Regions from separate parts of the Homo sapiens genome. Here regions 1 and 2 are each linked to region 3. The links are contacts of gene promoters, found by promoter capture Hi-C in blood cells and fetal thymus (Javierre and others, 2016). All regions are on one chromosome and are shown on one strand. Each heading gives the region's core, a stretch centred on a gene start or on the middle of the fragment in contact. The rest is flanking DNA. Distances are from core to core; before and after follow the strand shown.

Region 1 (3,204 bases), core at 344-2,843, 150 kb after region 3:
CAGTTTCTGCGTAACAAAATTAAATCATTTGCTTAAGATCGTATAACAAAAGCTAAAATACAGGGTTCTCCATTTACTAACTGTGTAACTTTGTAAAATTTATTTAAGGATTAACCTTCTAGTTCCCCAATTGTAAAATGGGAATATTAATAAAATATCATATTTTAAATAATCTATTAAAGTTAGAGTCAATCCTCATTATTCATAGGTTGCATATCTGCACATCTGTCTACTTGCTAAAGCTTATTTCTAAGCCCAAAGTCAATACTCAGTGTACTTTCATGGTCCTTTATGGACATGCAGAGCTGGTGAAAACTTTGTCACCGATGTGCATGTTTCCAGCTGAGGATGAACAAGGCAATGCTCTGCCTCCTTGTTTCAGTTCTCATACTGTAAAGTTTTGTTAGTGAGTGATCTACTCAGTGCCATGTTTTCATATTTTTATTAATTTTCTTGATGATTTCACTGTTTAAAATGTCTTGCAAGCATAGTACTGAAGTGCTGTCCAGTGTTCCAAAGTACAAAAACACTGTGATGTGCCATAGGGAAAAAATATGTGGGTTAGATAAACATCATTGAGACATGAATTATAACGCTGTTGGACATGAGTTCAATGTTAATAAATCAGAATATATATTAAATAGAATAACTTTAAAACAGAAACACACATTATTTTAATAAAGTTTTGCTTTGATCAGTTGACAAAAATGTGCCAGAGGCTTTCAGGAATATAACCCTTTACTATGCTAAGAACAATGGTTCATTAGGCACAAATTCAGAGTTTGTGGAGACTTTTTAGAACATAACTCCTGCAAATATTGATAATTGACTATACATATAAAAAGAACCTAAAATATTTCTGGATCTCCATAACTAGTAGATGTCATCATCTTCTTAACCATCATTAACGTAATTAAATAAATTCAAGAGTTTGGCCTAAGGTTAGAAAGACTGGCTTAGAGATAAACGGAAGATATACTAAACTAGCACATAGTCAAGTATTCTAAAATGGAAAACTGTTCAGCTTGAGTCTAAGGGAATCATCAAAAGATGAGTCACAGGACTATTGGGCCACCACCTGTTTGTAAAGGAAGCTTCATTGGAACGTAGTCACACCCATCTGTTTACCTATTGTCTACAGCTGCACTACAATAGCGATGTTGACTAGTTCCGACAGAATATATGCCCCCATAAAGTCTGTCTGCTCATTTAAAGTTTGCTGACTCCTGGTCTACAGGGAAAAAAAATTATCTTTATATACAAGGTAGAGCTTTAGAATTAGAAAAATCCTTAGCACTCTTTAAAATGCCAAAGTGTAGACAAAATATCTGCTGTTTTCCTCTCTTACTGGGATAAAATTCCAAAAACCAAGCACATCTATCTCAGGATGTGTGAATGTATGTTTGTATGTGTATGTATCTTTCCCACAGACTATCATGTCCATAACAGAGATGGGGGAAAGAGGACAAAAGAAATAGTGGCTCCAAGTTGCAATCCACACTTTGAAAATGTAGGATACATACAGTATAACTTGATTATTTTTTATTGTCCTTCATACGCAAATGACTGGTTACTTTTTGGCTCATATCAGTAAGGCACTGCTTAATTTCCTGAGCAGCCTGATGTTGAGTGGCATGCTGGATCAAACTTCACATGAGCACTCTTCTGTTCAAATATTTATCCTGCTGCTTTCAGGAGTTTCTATATCAGTGTTTCAGTATTCCACAAACTGTGAGACTACAAATTCTCTGATTCAAGTCAACTCCATTAAGGTTATTGGGACAGAAATTGTTAAGGAAGATGAACTGACATTCACTCTCACTTCACCCACCAGATAATAAAACTTCCAAGACTTCTTCAATCCTTATTATAATTATTGACTGAATATTGCCAACTTAGCACATCCACACTCCTTCACCGCTGTGAAAGGTTTATTACAAATGGAAAAAGAATAAATGATTTGGTAGATAGATGAGGTGAAATGTAGAGAAAATAATTATTTTAAGAATGGAAAAATATGAGAATACTTATATGCTTAGTGAATGGTGCAAGCGAAAGGTGTCAAAGGGCTTAATTAGTATAACAAGCTTACTAAAGACAGGTGAGGAGAAAGAACTCAGTGGAAAAAAAGATATATCAAGCTCATGTAATTTCTCCACTAGAAGTCATATCCTCAAAAAAAGGTTTAATATGACTGCTGTCACACAAATATTTTAGTTAAAGGAGTCACAGCTTGGTAGTGACTAGCCACCGAAGTTGAAGTCTGACCAGCAGGTGACAAAAAGTAGGGCTCACCGCAAATCCAAACACCTGTGTTCTAGCCTTCAGCTCTCAGGTTGAGTTGTTGGTTCTTCAAATGGTTGTTTCTCTGCAAACAATTCTTATCGGGTTGAACCATCCTATTGCACATGAGAGCTAAAGTTTCTTCCTAGTACCTGTATTTCTCTAGTGTTAACAAATCTGTGAGCTGGGCCTGGAACCCAGTTTCTATCCTTTTCCTCAGCAGTAGAGCTGTCCTGCCACACTTTATCATGAAGTCCTTGCCATTCCTGATATCAATGGGCATGACAATCTCCTAGTAAATAGCCATATGTCCAAATAGTACCCCAAAATTGAATTTTAAAATTTTTAATCAAGCATATTTGAAGGAGACTTAATTAATTGAAGGAGGGTGGATTGATGTTAATTATGTCTTTCAGTTACTGGTCTCATTATTCTCTCTAACCACATACTTTGTGTTGTGCCCACCCTCAAGCCAAAGACAGATTTACAATTTAGATCCAAGTTTAGCCTTCTTATATTGAGTCTAAATGGAGAAGGATTGTTAGCCATCCAAATAAACTTCCTTTGTGAGGACTGAATTTAACTGGGCATTTGAATCCTTCCTGATGGCATAGGAAGGAAAGTATAGGTCAGACACTTGTCTACAGAGCTAGAGCAGATTAGATTGAGAGAAATAAAGTCTACACATCAGTCAGTCCGATGTTAAGTCCTTTATTTCTCCATATGACTGTGCATACTGGGTAGCACAGATTCCATTGTACTCAATCTCAATATACCTTGTAAGGAAGGGAAGTAGTCATTATTTTCTTTTTTTTTTTGTCATTATTTTCTTGATGTGAGTAAAACGCCTATAACATTAAACATTTTAAGAACCAAAGTTTGGGTTGAGGTAAACCTACTCTTGCTCCACAACTACTGATA
Region 2 (3,092 bases), core at 413-2,912, 240 kb after region 3:
AAGAACATCTTTATTTCTGCCTTCATTTCGTTATGTACCCAGTAGTCATTCAGGAGCAGGTTGTTCAGTTTTCACGTAGTTGAGCGGTTTTGAGTGAGTTTCTTAATCCTAAGTTCTAGTTTGATTGCACTGTGGTCTGAGAGACAGTTTGTGATAATTTCTGTTCTTTTACTTTTGCTGAGGAGTGCTTTACTTCCAACTATGTGGTCAGTTTTGGAATAAGTGTGGTGTGGTGCTGAGAAGAATGTATATTGTGTTGATTTGGGTTGGAGAGTTCTGTAGATGTCCAGTAGGTCTGCTTGGTGCAGAGGTGAGTTCAATTCCTGGACATCCTTGTTAACTTTCTGTCTCGTTGATCTGTCTAATGTTGACAGTGGGGTGTTAAAGTCTCCCATTATTATTGTGTGGGAGTCTAAGTCTCTTTGTAAGTCTTTAAGGACTTGCTTTGTGAATCTGGGTGCTCCTGTATTGGGTGCATATATATTTAGGATAGTTAGCTCTTCTTGTTGCATTGATCCCTTTACCATTATGTAATGGCCTTCTTTGTCTCTTTTGATCTTTGCTGGTTTAAAGTCTATTTTTTCAGAGACTAGGATTGCAACCCCTGCCTTTTTTTGTTTTCCATTTGCTTGGTAGATCTTCCTCCATCCCTTTATTTTGAGCCTCTGTGTGTCTCTGCACATGAGATGGGTCTCCTGAATACAGCACACTGATGGGTCTTGACTCTTTATCCAATTTGCCAGTCTGTGTCTTTTAATTGGAGCATTTAGCCCATTTGCATTTAAGGTTAATATTATGTGTGAATTTGATCCTGTCATTATGATGTTAGCTGGTTATTTTGCTCATTAGTTAATGCAATTTCTTCCTAGTTTCGATGGCCTTTACAATTTGGTAAGTTTTTGCAGTGGCTGGTAACGGTTGTTCCTTTCCATGCTTAGTGCTTCCTTCAGGAGCTCTTGTAAGGCAAGCCTGGTGATGACAAAATCCCTCAGCATTTGCTTGTCTGTAAAGGATTTTATTTCTCCTTCACTTATGAAGCTTAGTTTGGCTGGATATGAAATTCTGGGTTGAAAATTCTTTTCTTTAAGAATGTTGAATTTTGGCCCCCACTCTCTTCTGGCTTGCAGAGTTTCTGCCGAGAGATCCGCTGTTAGTCTGATGGGCTTCCCCTTGTGGGTAACCCAACCTTTCTCTCTGGCTGCTGTTAACATTTTTTCCTTGATTTCAACTTCAGTGAATCTGACAATTATGTGTCTTGGAGTTGCTCTTCTCGAGGAGTATCTTTGTGGTGTTCTCTGTATTTCCTGAATTTGAATGTTGGCCTGCCTTGCTAGGTAGGGGAAGTTCTCCTGCGTAATATCCTGCAGAGTGTTTTCCAACTTGATTTCATTCTCCCTGTCACTTGCAGGTACACCAATCAGGCATAGATTTGGTCTTTTCCCATAGTCCCATATTTCTTGGAGGCTTTGTTCATTTCTTTTTACTCTTCTTTCTCTAAACTTCTCTTCTCACTTCATTTCATTCATTTGATCTCCAATCACTGATACCCTTTCTTCTAGTTGGTTGAATTGGCTACTGAAGCTTGTGCATTCATCACGTAGTTCTTATGCCATGGCTTTCAGCTTCTTTTAAGGACTTCTCTACACTGGTTATTCTAGTTAGCCATTCGTCTAATCTTTTTTCAAGGTTTTTGTCTTCTTTGCAATGGTTTCGATCTTCCTCCTTTAGCTCGGAGAAGCTTGATCATCTGAAGCCTTCTTCTCTCAATTCATCAAAGCCATTCTCCATCCAGCTTTGTTCTGTTGCTGGTGAGGAGCTGCACTCCTTTTGAAGGGGAGGGGCGCTCTGATTTTTAGAATTTTCAGCTTTTCTGCTCTGCTTTTTCCCCATCTTTGTGGTTTTATCTACCTTTGGTCTTTGATGATGGTGATGTACAGATGTGGTTTTGGTGTGGATGTCCTGTTTGTTAGTTTTCCTTCTAACAGTCAGGACCCTTAGCTGCAGGTCTGTTGGAGTTTGCTGGAGGTCCACTCCAGACCCTGTTTGCCTGTTTATCAGCAGTGGAGGCTGCAGAACAGTGAATATTGCTGAACAGCAAATGTTGCTGCCTGATCGTTCCTCTGGAATCTTCATCTCAGAGGGGTACCCGGCCGTGTGAGGTGTCAGCCTGCCCCTACTGGGGGGTGCCTCCCAGTTAGGCTACTTGGGGGTCAAGGACCCACTTGTGGAGGCAGTCTGTCCATTCTCAGTTCTCAGATTCCATGCTGGGAGAACCACTACTCTCTTCAAAGCTTTCAGACAGGGACATTTAAGCCTGCAGAGGTTTCTGCTGCCTTTTGTTGGGCTATGCCCTGCCCCCAGAGGTGGAGTCTACAGAGGCAGGCAGGCCTCCTTGAGCTGTGGTGGGCTCCACCCAGTTAGAGCTACCCAGCCACTTTGTTTTCCTACTCAAGCCTCAGCAATAAAGAGCACCCCTCCCCCAGCCTTGCTGCAGACTTGCAGTTCGATCTCAGACTGCTCTGTGAACAATGAGTGAGGTTCTGTGGGCATGGGACCCTCTGATCCAGGTGCAGGATATAATCTCCTGGTATGCCCTTTGCTAAGACCACTGGAAAAGTGCAGTATTAGGGTGGGAGTGACCCAATTTTCCAGGTGCGGTCTGTCACAGCTTCCCTTGGCTAGGAAAGGGAATTCCCTGACCCCTTGTGCTTCCTGGGTGAGGCAATGCCTCAGCCTGCTTCAGCTCATGGTCGGTGGGCTGCACCCACTGTTCTGCACCCATTGTCCAACAAGCTCCAGTGAGATGAACCCAGTACCTCAGCTGGAAATGCAGAAATCACCCATCTTCTGCATCACTCACACTGGGAGCTGTAGACTGGAGCTGTTCCTATTTAGCCATCTTGGAACTGCCCCAGGCTCTTTTTCATAAAGGCATCAGTAGAATTTTCATGTCCCTGATAGATACCAGACAGCTGGTTTAATTGATAGACATAACAGTCTCCTCAAACAATCCTTTTTCAAATTTCTTCCCATAAAATGGACCGTGGAATGTGTCTCTATATTGCCCCAGGCCTTAATCTCCCTTAAATCAA
Region 3 (2,975 bases), core at 355-2,854:
TATGTGAAGCTATCCTGGAATTCTTTCTACACTTTTACAAATTTTTTATTTATTGTGGAGATATTTCAACTAATTAATAGGTAAGGGGAACTCACATGTGGATTTGTGGTAGTTAGATGGTGTCTTTCCTCTTAAAAGCTGGTGATAATCTCTTTACCTCCTGATCCGATGACTAAATACAACAGAAAGGGGGCTGTCCAGCCCAGTTTCTAGGAAATCTAAGAACTAAATAGACTAAATTCTTTTCCCAGAGTTGCACAGTCTTGGCACTAAAAAGACAGAATCCAAATCAGGATGTTCACAAGTTGTACTGCTTGGAAAAAGCCAGTAGTTTGCTCTATGCTCTTCTTTTCTACTCTACTATTTTCCCCTTTATTAATATATGTGCACATGTATGTACATGCATGCACATACACACACATTTTGTCCAGCAAAGCCATGTAATACTTCAGGTGCCATTGCCTCAGATCTTAATAGTTAACAGAAGTTATTCAGTCCCTTATTTTTCCCTGCATGTTCTTCAGCATTTCACCTCTGCTTCCTCTGTCAAAAAAATGGGGGTGGGTATTTTACATTTAATTAGTATTTTCTGAGTATACTTTTTTTGCGGGCAAATGATGAGTGTGAAGCAGAGAAAGGAAAAATATACTTGGACAATCTTTTTCTTCTAATTTCCCATCTGAAAGAGCTGAGGAAAAGGAAATTTCCCCCACCCTGTGCCAACTATTCAAGCATTTTTAGTAAACAAAATAGTTAATGGTGAGAATCTACCCCGAGGATTTTCCACAATCTTCTCTGATTCCTCATTCTGTTTTCCTTTCCCTGCCTCCCCCTCCGTCCTTGCATAGCCCTAAAATGCTGTGAGCAGAGTGGTGGATTGGGTCAATTCTTCCAACCTACTTGCTGGGCCACCTTGGAAAAGCAGTTAAACTTTTCGACATTTTCACCACTAACAAAATGAAAGAGTGGCTTTGACAGGAATTGGGGGAGATCATCTGTATTCTTCACTTTATTAAAATGATTGTGAGTGTCTATGTGTTTCACTTTGGGTGGCAAGTGCTATAAAATTTAATAAAATTATTTAAAATGTTTATATTTGTCCCTAAGTGTTCCAACTCACTAGCTTCTACATTCCAAGTTTCCTAAATCTCACTTCCTCCTGCCTTACCCAGAAGAGACTTTCCTCACCCCAACTGCTCCTCTAGGTGAGTGGGAACTTCCCACAGAAACTTTAGCCCCCTTACCACCCCAACCACTGGCTCACCTCGGTCACTGGCCGTTCCTGGAGTGAACTCTGTGAATCTGCGTCTTAGAGGACAGTCAGAGAAGCCAAGTCTCCCTGACCATCCAGATGGTAGAAGAGACGCTTTCAGCGATCCATGTCAAACCCGGTTGTTACCTCTTAGAGATTCCACCGGGTCTGGTTTCTCTGCCTGCTCCTTATTCTACTCCTTCCTTGGAGTTCCGTATGCTCCTCAAGGACGCCTTCGGGCTGATCTCTCCGCTGCAGCCAGTTTAGTCGCTCTTCAGTACCTCCTCTCCCTGGTTAGCTCCCCGGAGAGGAGCTTTCAGGACCACAAGCCTCTGGGCAGCTCCTGCTCTCTGGCCGGAGCCTCTGACTTGCTGCAGTTTTGATTGCTCTCCCAGCTGACCAGGGAGGAGTGATGTTGCCCAGAGTCTAACTCCTCCCTTTTCCCCAGCCGAAAGACACGCCCACTTGAAAGGCTCCTCCGGCCAGGTCCAGTTTTGCCGCCCGTTTGTTTGTTTAAATAGAGATGGGGGTTGGTGGAAGGGGAGCAGGGGAGGAGAGTTGCTGAAGTTAAGGAGTAAAGAAAAAGAGGACTGGAAACCTTTGTGATTAAAAAGATAAGAAATGGGAGCGGAGTAGTGTGGACAGAATGGAGAAAGAAAATTGGGGATAGACTTGGAGAGAGAGCTAAAAAGGGCAGATGACGCTGCTGACCCACGTCTGAAAAGAATCAAAAGGTGAGAAAGATGCGTGTCAAGGACACAGCATCAGTGGCTGCTTCCTTACACATGTGGACTGGGGTCTTTGGCTTATAAACTTCAGCGTTCTAAAAGTAGAAGGAAGAAGTATGTCTCTCCCACCTTTTCAGCACGTCAAAGCTACTCTCATTAAAACTTTTAATTTGTGAATTTAGGTGAAGCTATATTTGTTGTGCTATTCTTTCAACTTTCTGATCACTTTAAATTTATAAAAACAAAAAGGAAATTAATAAAATCCTTCATTTTAAGGGCAGTTAGTTCCTTGAGTTACAAACTGAGATCTACTATTGTTTTTCAAAAATACATCATTAAGCATTCACGTAGAAAAAGTCCACCTGAGTAGTAATAAGCTTAGAAGAAGAGAAGGCTCATAATAATTCCTAAAACTCCTTTGGTATTAGGAGGTTGAATTAAATTGCTAGAAGACAGAAAGAAAACTACATCTGGAATAATTTAAGTATATAGATATTCATACTATCTTATTTAAAACTACACCAAGGAAAAATAAATGATTGTGAACTTAAGATACCAAAGATTTTCTAATCATCTTGTGTTTCCAAGAAGGAAAAAGAAAGGTGCTCAGATTAAGCAATTGGCTGAATGATCTTGAATAAGTCAACTTCACTCTGGGCATCAGTTTTCATATCTGTAAAATGAGTTTTTCCATCAGTAGCCTGATAGAGTTACGAATCCAAGTTCAACTTCTTTTAGAAATTGACTTGAAGGATAATTCCTCAGGCGTTTTGGCAAAAGGCAAAACATTTATACAATCTGAAAAGAAACCAGAGTATCCCCAGCTTTTTGAGAATCGCGTGGTCTAACAACATAACTAGCACATGCGTCAAACAGAAATGAAAAACTATTAATATGCCTGTGTGCAAGGAAAACTGTAGAGGGCTGAAACAAAAGATAGTTTCACTGCTCATAAAGTTGAAAAGAGTATCTTAAGTTTGAAAATAGTTATTTTT

What was found. The method cuts DNA at HindIII sites, captures the fragments that hold promoters and counts their contacts. A CHiCAGO score of 5 or more calls a contact.
Region 1: a fragment that was not itself captured here is called in contact with the fragment with the promoter of NEUROD4 in region 3 in 1 of 17 cell types (non-activated CD4 T cells); the score reaches 5.1 in non-activated CD4 T cells.
Region 2: a contact is called between a fragment that was not itself captured here and the fragment with the promoter of NEUROD4 in region 3, in 2 of 17 cell types (activated CD4 T cells and naive CD4 T cells). The highest score is 8.1, in activated CD4 T cells.

What each region holds. Positions count from the first base shown.
Region 1 is chr12:54,868,698-54,871,901 of GRCh38, reverse strand. No RefSeq gene overlaps it. Among named protein-coding and RNA genes, the nearest start is that of MUCL1, 16 kb to the right of the region's middle. The HindIII fragment of the contact is 993 bases long and covers 1,097-2,089 here.
Region 2 is chr12:54,776,582-54,779,673 of GRCh38, reverse strand. No RefSeq gene overlaps it. Among named protein-coding and RNA genes, the nearest start is that of MUCL1, 76 kb to the left of the region's middle. The HindIII fragment of the contact is 157 bases long and covers 1,584-1,740 here.
Region 3 is chr12:55,018,603-55,021,577 of GRCh38, reverse strand. NEUROD4 (neuronal differentiation 4) reads right to left here and starts at 1,604. Exons shown (of 2, transcript NM_021191.3): 1 at 1,265-1,604. The HindIII fragment of the contact is 8,784 bases long and covers 1-2,359 here.